Regions from separate parts of the Homo sapiens genome. Here regions 1 and 2 are each linked to region 3. The links are contacts of gene promoters, found by promoter capture Hi-C in blood cells and fetal thymus (Javierre and others, 2016). All regions are on one chromosome and are shown on one strand. Each heading gives the region's core, a stretch centred on a gene start or on the middle of the fragment in contact. The rest is flanking DNA. Distances are from core to core; before and after follow the strand shown. Region 1 overlaps MYH11 (myosin heavy chain 11). Region 2 overlaps MYH11 (myosin heavy chain 11). Region 3 holds the start of MYH11 (myosin heavy chain 11).

Region 1 (3,588 bases), core at 203-2,702, 55 kb before region 3:
TGGATGGATAGATAGGAAGAAAGAAAGAAGAAAGGAGGGAAGGGTGTGTAGATGGGTAGATGGGTGGGTATATAGCTGGTTGGACGGATGGTTGGACGGAGGAGGGAAGGATGAGTGAGTGGATGAGAGAGTGGATGGGTGGGTGAATGGGAGGGAGGACAGAGTGTATAGGCCGGTAAATGAGTTGGATGGATGGATGGATGGATGGATGGATGGATGGATGGATGGATGGGAATATGAATGGGAGGATGGATGGGACTGAAGAAGGCAAGGTGAAAGAGATGACTCTTTCTTCCATCTGTAATCTTAAGAGAGAACTGATTGGATGTGGGCACGTTCCTCAGATTCTATGCCCAACTCCAATCAGTTCTCTCTCTCTTCCCTCGGATTATAGATGGATGTTTGGGTGGCCTGGTTGAACGAAATCCTCAAGACAAAAGGCCTAAAGACTAGTCAGCTCTGGGGTTTCAATTCTGGTGTGTTTATATAATGGCACATTTAAAAATAGGCAGGCCGGGCGCAGTGGCTCATGCCTGTAATCTCACCACTTTGGGAGGCCAAGGAGGGTGGATCACTTGAGTTCAGGAGTTCCAGACCAGCCTGGCTAACATGGTGAAACCCCATCTCCACTAAAAATACAAAAATTAGTTGGGTGTCATGGCACACGCTTGTAATCCCAGCTACTCAGAAGGCTGAGGCAGGAAAATTGCTTGAACTCAGGAGGCGGACGTTGCAGTGAGCCGAGATCGTGCCACTGCATGCCAGGCTGGGCAACAGAGCAAGACTCTGTTTCAAAAACAAATAAGATATAAATACATAAATAAAATAGGCAGCCATTGAAAAGAACCAGGCAGAGCTTTGTGGATGGACACAGAAAAATATCCAAAATATATTAAGCTAAAAATAAAAGATGAGGTAGCATAGTGTTATACCTTTTGTGTTTTAAAAAGACAGATATATAGGTAGGATGCAGTGGTTCATGCCTGTAATCTCAACACTTTGGGAGGCTGAGATGGGAGGATCACTTGAGGCCAGGAGTTCCAGACCAGCCTGGACAACATAGCAAGACCCAGTCTCTACAAAAAAAAATTTTTTTTTAATTAGCTATGTGTGATAGACATACCCCTTGTCCCAGCTACTTGGGAGGCTGAGACAGTAGGATCCCTTGAGCCAAGGAGTTCAAGGTTGCAGTGAGCTGTGATTACACCACTGCACTCCAGCCTGGGCAATGGAGTGAGACCCTATCTCTAAAAACAGACCTGGGATGGGTGCGGTGGCTCACACTTGTAATCCCAGCACTTCGGAAGGCTGAGGCGGGCAGATCACTTGAGGTCAGGAGTTCAAGACCAGCCTGGCCAACATGGTGAAACGCTGTCTCTACTAAAAATACAAAAATTAGCTGGGCATGGTAGCATGCACCTGTAATCCAAGGTACTCCGGAGGCTGAGGCAGGAGAATCACTTCAACCCAGGAGGTGGAGGTTGCAGTGAGGTGAGATCATGCCACTACACTCCAGCCTGGGCAACAGAGCGAGACTCCAAAAACAAAACAAAACAAACAAAAAAAACCAACAAACAGGCCTGAGCCTGAAGTATTGAGAAAAGGGACAGGAGGAAGACCTACTTTCACCCATTCTACTTCTATCCTGGTTATGTTTGTGCTATGAACACATACAATCTTTTCCTCATCCCACCAAAAATGGTCAATAGAAAAAGAGTCGGTATTGTTCTTTATGAAACCATCATGACCACAAAGCTAAAAAAAGACAGAAAAGAAAGAGCCACCGCATTAGGATCCCACTAACAGCTCCGATCTCCCGAGCACTCACTGCACTGCAGGCGTATGCTGAACTTCTGTGTTGAAGTGACCCACTGAATTCTCTCAGCAGCTCCTGGGGTGGGCACTGGCATTGCCTCCATTTTACAAATAAGGAGAGTGAGGTTCAGAAGTGAGGCAACTTGCCCAAGGTCACTAGGGTGGGTTGAACTGTGACTCCCAAAAGCTATGTTCACTCAGAACCTCAGACTGCGATGTTATTGACTAACCAATTGATTGAGATGGGGTCTCACTTTGTCGCCCAGGTGGGTGTACAGTGGCGTGATCTCAGCTCACTGCAACCTCAACCTCCCAGGCTCAAGCAATCCTCCCTCTTCGGCCTCCCCTGTAGCTGGGACTATAGGCACATGCCAGCATGCCCGGCTAATTTTTGTATTTTTTGTAGAGATTGGGTCTTGCTATGTTGCCCAGGCTGGTTTCACACTCTTGGGCTCAAGTGACCCACCTGCCTCAGCCTCCCAAAGTGCTGGGATTACAGGCGTGAGCCACTGTATCCCACCTGTGATTTTATTTAGAATAAGGGTCTTGCAGATGTAATTAAGGGAAGGATGTTGAGATGAGGTCATCCTGGCTTGGAGTGAGACCTAAATCAATGGTGTCCCTATTTATAAGAGAAAGGAGGCCGGGCGTGGTGGCTCACACCTGTAATCCCAGCACGTGGGTGGATCACCTGAGGTCAGGAGTTCGAGACCAGCCTGGGCAACATGGTGAAACCCATCTCTACTAAAAATACAAAAAATTAGCCAGGCATGGCGGCAGGCACCTGTAGTCCCAGCTACTCGGGAGGCTAAGGCAGGAGAATCACTTGAACCCAGGAGGTGGAGGTTGCAGTGAGTTGAGATTTTGCCACTGCACTCCAGCCTGGGCAACAGAGCAAGACCCCATCTCAAAGAAAAAAAAAGCAGGAAAAAAGCAATCAAACTTTAATCTCTCCATTATACTCTGGAGACAGACAGATACCCGTGCCTTTAGCTTCCACCCAGGGGGAGAAATTCACTCGAGGACAGAGCAAAATGGGAAACCAGTTTAATTTTTTTTTTTTTTCTGAAATGGAGTCTCGCTCTGTCACCCAGGCTGGAGTGCAGTGGCTCGATCTTGGCTCACTGCAACCTCTGCCTCCTGGTTTCAAGCAATTCTTCCACCTCGGCCCCCCGAGTAGCTGGGACTACAGGTGCGTGCCACCACGCCTGGCTAATTTTTCTATTTTTTGTAGAGACGGGGTTTCACCATGTTGGCCAGGCTGGTCTCGAACTCCTGACCTCAGGTGATCCGCCCGCCTCAGCCTCCCAAAGTACTAAAAAGTGATTTTTTAAAAGAGGGTGAAGGATAGAAGAACCAGGTACCCTGTGATTAGAACCCAGACAGAGAGAACCTCCTGGGACCGGCCCAGACAACCTCCACTATCTTAAGGAAAGATTTTGAGATGGACAGACAGATGGGCTGTGTTGATCCACTACTTCAGGGAGAGAGGCAGGCTTTCCTGGCAGCCTTGTGAATCCTAGGCCCAGAGCAGGAGAGATTTATAGGCTCAGATGCTCACAGGGCCCCCAGGAGAGGGAGCGGGCTCCAGGAGAAGGCCTGGGAGCTGCCAGCGCGGCTCCGAGCTGGGGGCTGCTGGGAGACCTCTGGCCTGACGTTCCCATCAAAAACACACCACTTCCAGGCGTGGGAAGCTTGCAGGGTGCTGGTTACGAGCAGAAGGACTCCATGTGGGTGCTGTCTGCCAACCCGTGTGGAGCACAGGGAACTCTG
Region 2 (3,428 bases), core at 388-2,887, 39 kb before region 3:
ATGAGCTAAATTTCATCTTTCATGGAGGAAAGTCAATAGATGATACCTAAAATTGAAAACAAAATTAAGATAGCAGCACAATGATCAAGTGTTGTTTTCAGAGATATGGTGGTAAATACCAAAAAAAAAAAAAATCAATTAAAGGAGTTGAGAAGTAGCAGAGGATGGCTATTTTTCTTAATAAGCCTTCAAAAATTACTTGACTCTAAGCCGTCTGCATGAATACTTTTAACAAAAATAAAAACCAATTTTTTAAAAAAGGGAACAAGGAATTCCTACATGCACTGATATGTAACATCCTCTGGCAAAATATAGGACTGTATATATATGGAATGCTAGTATTTGTAGGGAAATCTTAGGGAAGAAAATAGATACCTATTTGCTTATACTTGCAAAAATATCTCTAGGAGAAAACCTCATACACTAGAAACCATAATTGTCTCTTGGGAGGGAAGCTAAGGGTCTAATGCACAAGGGTTGAAGGGAGAAGTTCACCTTTTGAATTTGTATGTAACATCTTTCCAAAAACAAACCACGGCCGGGCGCAGTGGCTCATGCCTGTAATCTCAGCACTTTGGGAGGTTGAGGCGGGCAGATCACCTGAGGTCAGGAGTTTGAAACCAGCCTGGCCAACATGGCAAAACCCCATCTCTACTAAAAATACAAAAATTAGCCAGGCATGGTGGTGTGTGCCTGTAGTCCCAGCTACTCAGGAGGCTGAGGCACAAGAATTGCTTGAACCCAGGAGACAGAGGTTGCAGTGAGCAGAAATCATACCACTGAGCTGAGATCGTGCTGCTGCACTCCAGCCTGGGTGGCAGGGCGAGACTCTGCCTCAAAAAAAAAGGGGGGGAGAATTTAAAAAATAAACATGACATAATTTATGCATATGCAGATATAAGATACATATTTTAAATATCAGCTTCTCTTCCCATACCCTCAAGGGGCTTGGCTTCCACTTGGGAGGGTGCCATGTTGTGAAGTATCTCTTAGAAAGTCCCTCCCATTTTCCCAACTCCTGTGAGGCAGCAAAGGGCTGAGCTCTGGCTCTGAGCTCCCTGCCACAGTATACTAGTCAACCCCTCTAAACCAGCTCCTGCCACACTCATCATACCCATTCTCACCCCTACATTTATGCTTTTATTATTCTTGGCTAGAAAGCCATCCCTGCCCCCTTCTCTCACCTTAGCAAACCATTCTTCGAGGCTTATAAAGCCCCACCTCTCTCAAATAACCCACCCCATCCATCCTGACCCTGGTAGGTTCTTTTCTATAAATAACTCTAATAATTCATTGATTCAACAAATACTGAGCAGCTACTATGTGCCAGGCACCAGAAAATGTGCTGGAGATACAATGATGCACATGCAAGAAGGATGGAGTTTATAGGTCCTCAGGAACTTACTGTCTATGTGACACAACTGCAATGCTTCATCTTATATTCAGTGCATGTGTGTTACCCATCCCTCCTCAATCCCGCCTTTTCACACCCCATCTTTTCCATGAAGAACTCAAGGAAGAAGCCACATGTGCTAGCTTTCTCTCTCCACCTTCATGGTAAGCTTAGTGTGGATCGCAGCCCAGTGACTTAACAGAATGAGATCGTGCCATTTATCAATGGAGTCAACACACTGGGCCTACGTGTTTCTTCACAAAAACCAATTTCCTACTTGGGAATGGAGAAAAAATTAAGCAGGTGAACGGAATTCTTCCCAAGCTTAAATTTTTCTCCATTATTTTTGACATTCTTTTTATTTTTTATTTATTTATTTATTTTGAGATGGAGTCTCGCTTTGTTGCCCAGGCTAGAGTGCAGTGGCGTGATCTCGGCTCACTGCAAGCTCCGCCTCTTGGGTTCACACCATTCTCCTGCCTCAGCACCCCCTGAGTAGCTGGGACTACAGGCGCCTGCCACTGTGCCTGGCTAGTTTTTTTTGTATTTTTAGTAGAGACGGAGATTCACCACGTTAGCCAGGATGGTCTCGATCTCCTGATCTCATGATCCCCCCACCTTGGCCTCCCAAAGTGCTGGGATTACAGGCGTTAGCCACCGTGCCCGATTCTTTTTATTTTTGGAGTCCGCCATCAATGATTTGCCAGAAAGCACCAGGTCATGCCAAAATAGACGAGGGCATAGCAGGTGTTGGTTAACATTTAAATTAAGTAAAGAGTTTATCTTTTATGGATGTGCATATTCACGGTTTTCATTTTCTTTCTTTCTTTCGTGACAGGGTCTTACTCTGTTGCCAAGGCTGGAGTACCATAGCACGATCATAGCACACTGCATTCTTGAAGTCCTGGGCTCAAGCCATCCTCCTGCCTCAGCCTCCAGAGTAGCTAGGACTACAGACTCACGCACTGTGGCCAGCTAATTATTTTTTTGTAGAGACAAGAGCTCACTATGTTGGCCAGGCTGGTCTCTAACTCCTGGCCTCAAGTGATCCTCCTGCCTTGGCCTCCCAAAGTGCTAGGACTGAAGACATGCTGCTGTGCTCAATCATGATAGTCATTTCCTATTGGAGCTTACTATGTGTCAAGTGAGCATTTCTAAGTAGTTTCAAGAGAGCTGACTATGCAATTTTGTGTTAAAACCTAGAGACCATGAGGAATCAAATATATGAACACAGGGTGTCCTTGTCAATTACAACATTGCCTCACAGTTAAGAGGTGGTCTAGCGCAGGCATCTCAAACCACCGACTGGTACTGCACAGCAGGAGGTGAGTAGTGGGCTTCATCTGTATTTACAGCCACTCCCTATCACTCCAATTACTGCCTGAGCTCTGCTTCCTCTCAGATCAGAGGCGGCATTAGACTCTTATAGAACCACCAACCCTACTGTGAACTGCACATAAGAGGGATCCAGGCTGTGTGCTCCTTATGAGAATCTAATGCCTGATGATCTGTCACTGTCTCCCATCACCCCCAGATGGGACCGTCTAGTTGCAGGAAAACAAGCTCAGGGCTCCCACTGATTCTACATGATGGTGAGTTGTATAATGATTTCATTATATATGACAATGTAATCATAGAAATAAAGTGCACAATAAATGTAATGCGCTCGAATCATCCCGAACCATCTCTCCCCTGCGGTCCATGGAAAAACTGACTTCTATGAAACTGGTCCCTGGTGTCAAAAAGGTTGGGGACTGCTGGTCTAGGAAAGCAAAAGTCCCCACAACACAAAAGTATTCTTCAATGACTACAAGAGCGATCAAACTCCACCGAAACCTCCTTCTCCGACGATTCAGTGGCTTCACCTTGCCAATTATTGGGTATCAATAGCCACCATCATGATATGAACACAAAACAAAGTGGCAGTTCTGGAAAACAAGGTGCAGTGACTGGCAAAGTCAGTGGCCTTGGAAAGGCCAAAAAAAAGATTCAGGGGCCAAGTGTGGTGGTGCACACCTGTAATCCCACCACTTTG
Region 3 (3,194 bases), core at 9-2,508:
AATTCTAAAATAGTATCGTTGAGTAAATCAAAGAAACAAAAAACTATGCAAAGCAGTTTATTAATAGCCTGCATTCTTTTTGCCAAACCCCGGACGGACAGTTCACCATTTAATCTCTCAGTTCTTCATACTGCAACTAAACACTCCCACCTTGGGTTTCTAAATATTTTCTTTTACTTCTTGACAAGCATGGCTTTGGATGGTACCTTTTCTCAAGTGGCAAAATCCCTACCAGACCCTGTGCTGGAAGAAAACTTACAACAGGCAGTAGCCACACTTTCTCTCGTTTTACCCATTTGGTTGGGCACGAGAGTGGCATTGACACAGGTGGCTCTGCGGGAAATTCTAGTGTAATCTTACCTAACGCACCTGCAGATCGTGGAAGCAAATGGAGACTTTGGAGCCCACCTGGGTATCTGGGGGCCCTTTGGGGTCAACCTGGGTGAGTTGTTTTTTTTTTTTTTAATTTGGAGAAGAGGAAAAAGTGGGCTGTAACAAACTAGATCACAACCAGCCTTATCTCCCAGGGGTTCTCAACATAGAAGAACCTCCCCTAAACTGATTAAAAAAAAAAAACAACAACACTCCTTTCTGCTAAGCCTATGCCCATGTGTTTTTAACTGATTTAATGCATTATCAACACAACTGTGCAATACGGTCAAATCCACAAGGAGCCTCACTTTGCCCTTCTGTGTGATAGCAAGTGACTTTTCAGTGAAGTTCAGCTGTAAATTTTTTGGTGCCTAGAATAAAAGTGAGATGCCTTGATTGTCTGCACCGGACCTCTGAGATTTCCAAGGGAGCATATCTCCTGGATTAGCCTCTTAACAAGAATCACTCGGGACTAATTTTTTTTTTTTTAAGGCAGTTTTTCTGGGGATTCTAGAGTTGGGAAATGGAGTTGGGTCCAGGCATTGATATCGTTAATAAGCACCCCCAAAATGGTACTTCTCACTGGCAATCTTAAGAAATGCTGTTTGGGGAAAGTCTAGGATAATCTAAGACGATAAGGCAGAGAGAGATCCAAATCACAACTCTGCCCCCACCATGGCCCTTACGAGGTTGACAACAGGGACCCCTAAGTGCACCCCAGCCCCTATAGAATACCCTATAGGACTTTTAACACCCCCCTGCCCTGCAATCTGCCCCCAGAATGACAACTACTACTTACAGATCTCCAACTGGGGGGACTAGTGGAGAGGAAACTGGATGGCGAGCTCGGATCTGACGCACCTCCCAGGCCGGAGCGTCCAAATCTCCCTGCGCGTCCTCGGACGCCTCTCTTTATAGACCCGGAGCTGCCCGCGGCTGGGAAAGGGGAGGAGGCCGAAGGGGTGGAGTTGGGGAGGGTCCCTCGCGGCCCCCTCGCCGCGCCCCCTGCAGGGCGCACCCCCGGCGGGAGCGCAAGGAGCTGGGGCGCTCGGGACAAGGGTGCACGGAACAGGTGCGCACCGCACAAGGGCGCACGGAACAGGTGCGCACAGGGACGGGAGTCTCAGCCCCGGCCCCAGGCGGTCGCAGACGCTCCGGATCCCTAGAGAAAGGGGGTCGAGCAGGCAGTGTCTGTGCGGGATGCTTGAGAACGTCTTCCCTGAGTCGGTTCCGGCCGCAAAGGCTTTAACCTCTTCCTCCCCGTGTCGGGGCTGTGGTGGATCTGACTTGACATCTCCCACCCCACTTCCCATTTTATTGGCATCGCACTGTCTGGAAAGAGGGCCGGCTGTGCAGCGTGAAGGGTAGGGAAAGGGGATTTCTTGAACTTTGCAAAGTGCAAGACAGGAGGCCCCCACCCTTGCTGGGAACCGTGCAGGAAGGGGAAGTTTTTACTTTTCCCAACTTGCCATCTCCACCTCCACCCACATCACCACGACCAAAATACAAATAAAAATTAAAAATAAGCCCACTGTGATTATTTCAGCTGTCCCCCTCCCCTGTGCGCCACTCGCCAGCTGCGTGACCTTGGGCAAGTCACTTCACTTCTCTGAGACTTGGTGTCCATAGCTACAAAATGGGGGAAGGCGGTGGCGGTGATAATTACGTTATTTACAAGATGCAAGTGTCAAGATCCAAGGAGAAAGTGGGTGTGCCCCCAGAGTCTGCGAGTTCCCTTCAACAACTTCCCTTCCCCAAGGATTCCTCGCCTAAAATTGCATTCCCTGTCTCTCTCCATCACAGGCTCTCTCGCTCTGTCTCTGCCACTGTCTCTGCATGTCTGTCACTCTGATCATTGCTGTCTCTCGCTCTATCTTTTGTCTCTGTCCCTCTCGCTTCTCTAGATCTGTCGATGTATCTGTCTCTCCCTCCTGTCTCACTTTGTCTCTGGTCTCTGTGTCTCTTGCTCTCCATCTCTCCCGCGTGTCTCACTCCTATCTCTGCGCTTTCTCTCTCTCTCTTCCCCAGGCTCTCCGTCTTCTCCCCGTCCCTCCCTCCCCGCTCCTGTCCACGCACGCACACACAGGCCATAAAAGGAAGTCGAGGCGGTGGGCTGGCCCCGCGCCAGGCCGGGGACCCGCGGGCAGCCCGGGCGCTCCGCTCCCCGCGCGGCACCAGCTCCTCCGAGGTTCCCGGGCCGGGCCGGGCCGGGCCGGTCCCCCTCCCCGGGAGCGGCGGGAGCGGCGGGCGGGAGACAACCCAAAAAGGGCAGGCGCGGACTCCTTCCTGCAGGAATTCCCAGCGCCGCATACCAGCTCTGGGCTGCCGGCTCCCCCTGACTAAATATGGTGCCGAGTGGCCTTCCTGCTCCCCGGCGTCGGGGGAGGGGGCCCTTCACGCAGCCACCGGCCGCCGTTGCCCCGCGGGGCTAGATGGGGACCCCTCTGCTTGGGGAAGGCCCGGAAGGGGGCAGCCCCCAGTCCCACGTGGGTTTCTGCTGCTTCAGGCTAGAGGATTTGGAGAGAGGGTTAAAGTTGGGCAGACCCCTCCTGGGTTCTGTACTTGACGCAGGCCCTTAGTCTACAACCACTCCTCTTGCAACCAGGTGGAGGGGCTGGGGGCCGGGGGTGCGGGGGGTGGCTTTATTAATACCCCCATTTTGCAGGTGAGAAAATTGAGTCCCTGCAGGGGTAAAGGGATTTGACCAAGCTCTCACTGGGACAGTCATTGATTGGTGCTGGCACTGGAACCTTTCTGATGACACCATTCACTTCCAGAGAGGAGACATTAAAGGGAAATGCCCAGGCAAACTGGCCTTGAGG

The links. Contacts are between HindIII fragments. The CHiCAGO score rates a contact against its expected background, and 5 or more counts as called.
Region 1: a fragment that was not itself captured here is called in contact with the fragment with the promoter of MYH11 in region 3 in 2 of 17 cell types (megakaryocytes and endothelial precursors); the score reaches 6.6 in megakaryocytes.
Region 2: a fragment that was not itself captured here is called in contact with the fragment with the promoter of MYH11 in region 3 in 2 of 17 cell types (endothelial precursors and megakaryocytes); the score reaches 6.5 in endothelial precursors.

The regions. Positions count from the first base shown.
Region 1 is chr16:15,800,413-15,804,000 of GRCh38, forward strand. The region is part of intron 3 of MYH11 (myosin heavy chain 11); the gene reads right to left. Among named protein-coding and RNA genes, the nearest start is that of MYH11, 55 kb to the right of the region's middle. The HindIII fragment of the contact is 4,109 bases long and covers 1-3,507 here.
Region 2 is chr16:15,816,674-15,820,101 of GRCh38, forward strand. The region is part of intron 3 of MYH11 (myosin heavy chain 11); the gene reads right to left. Among named protein-coding and RNA genes, the nearest start is that of MYH11, 39 kb to the right of the region's middle. The HindIII fragment of the contact is 155 bases long and covers 1,561-1,715 here.
Region 3 is chr16:15,855,770-15,858,963 of GRCh38, forward strand. MYH11 (myosin heavy chain 11) reads right to left here and starts at 1,259. Exons shown (of 41, transcript NM_002474.3): 1 at 1,172-1,259. RefSeq lists an enhancer at 2,305-2,806. The HindIII fragment of the contact is 5,018 bases long and covers 1-3,194 here.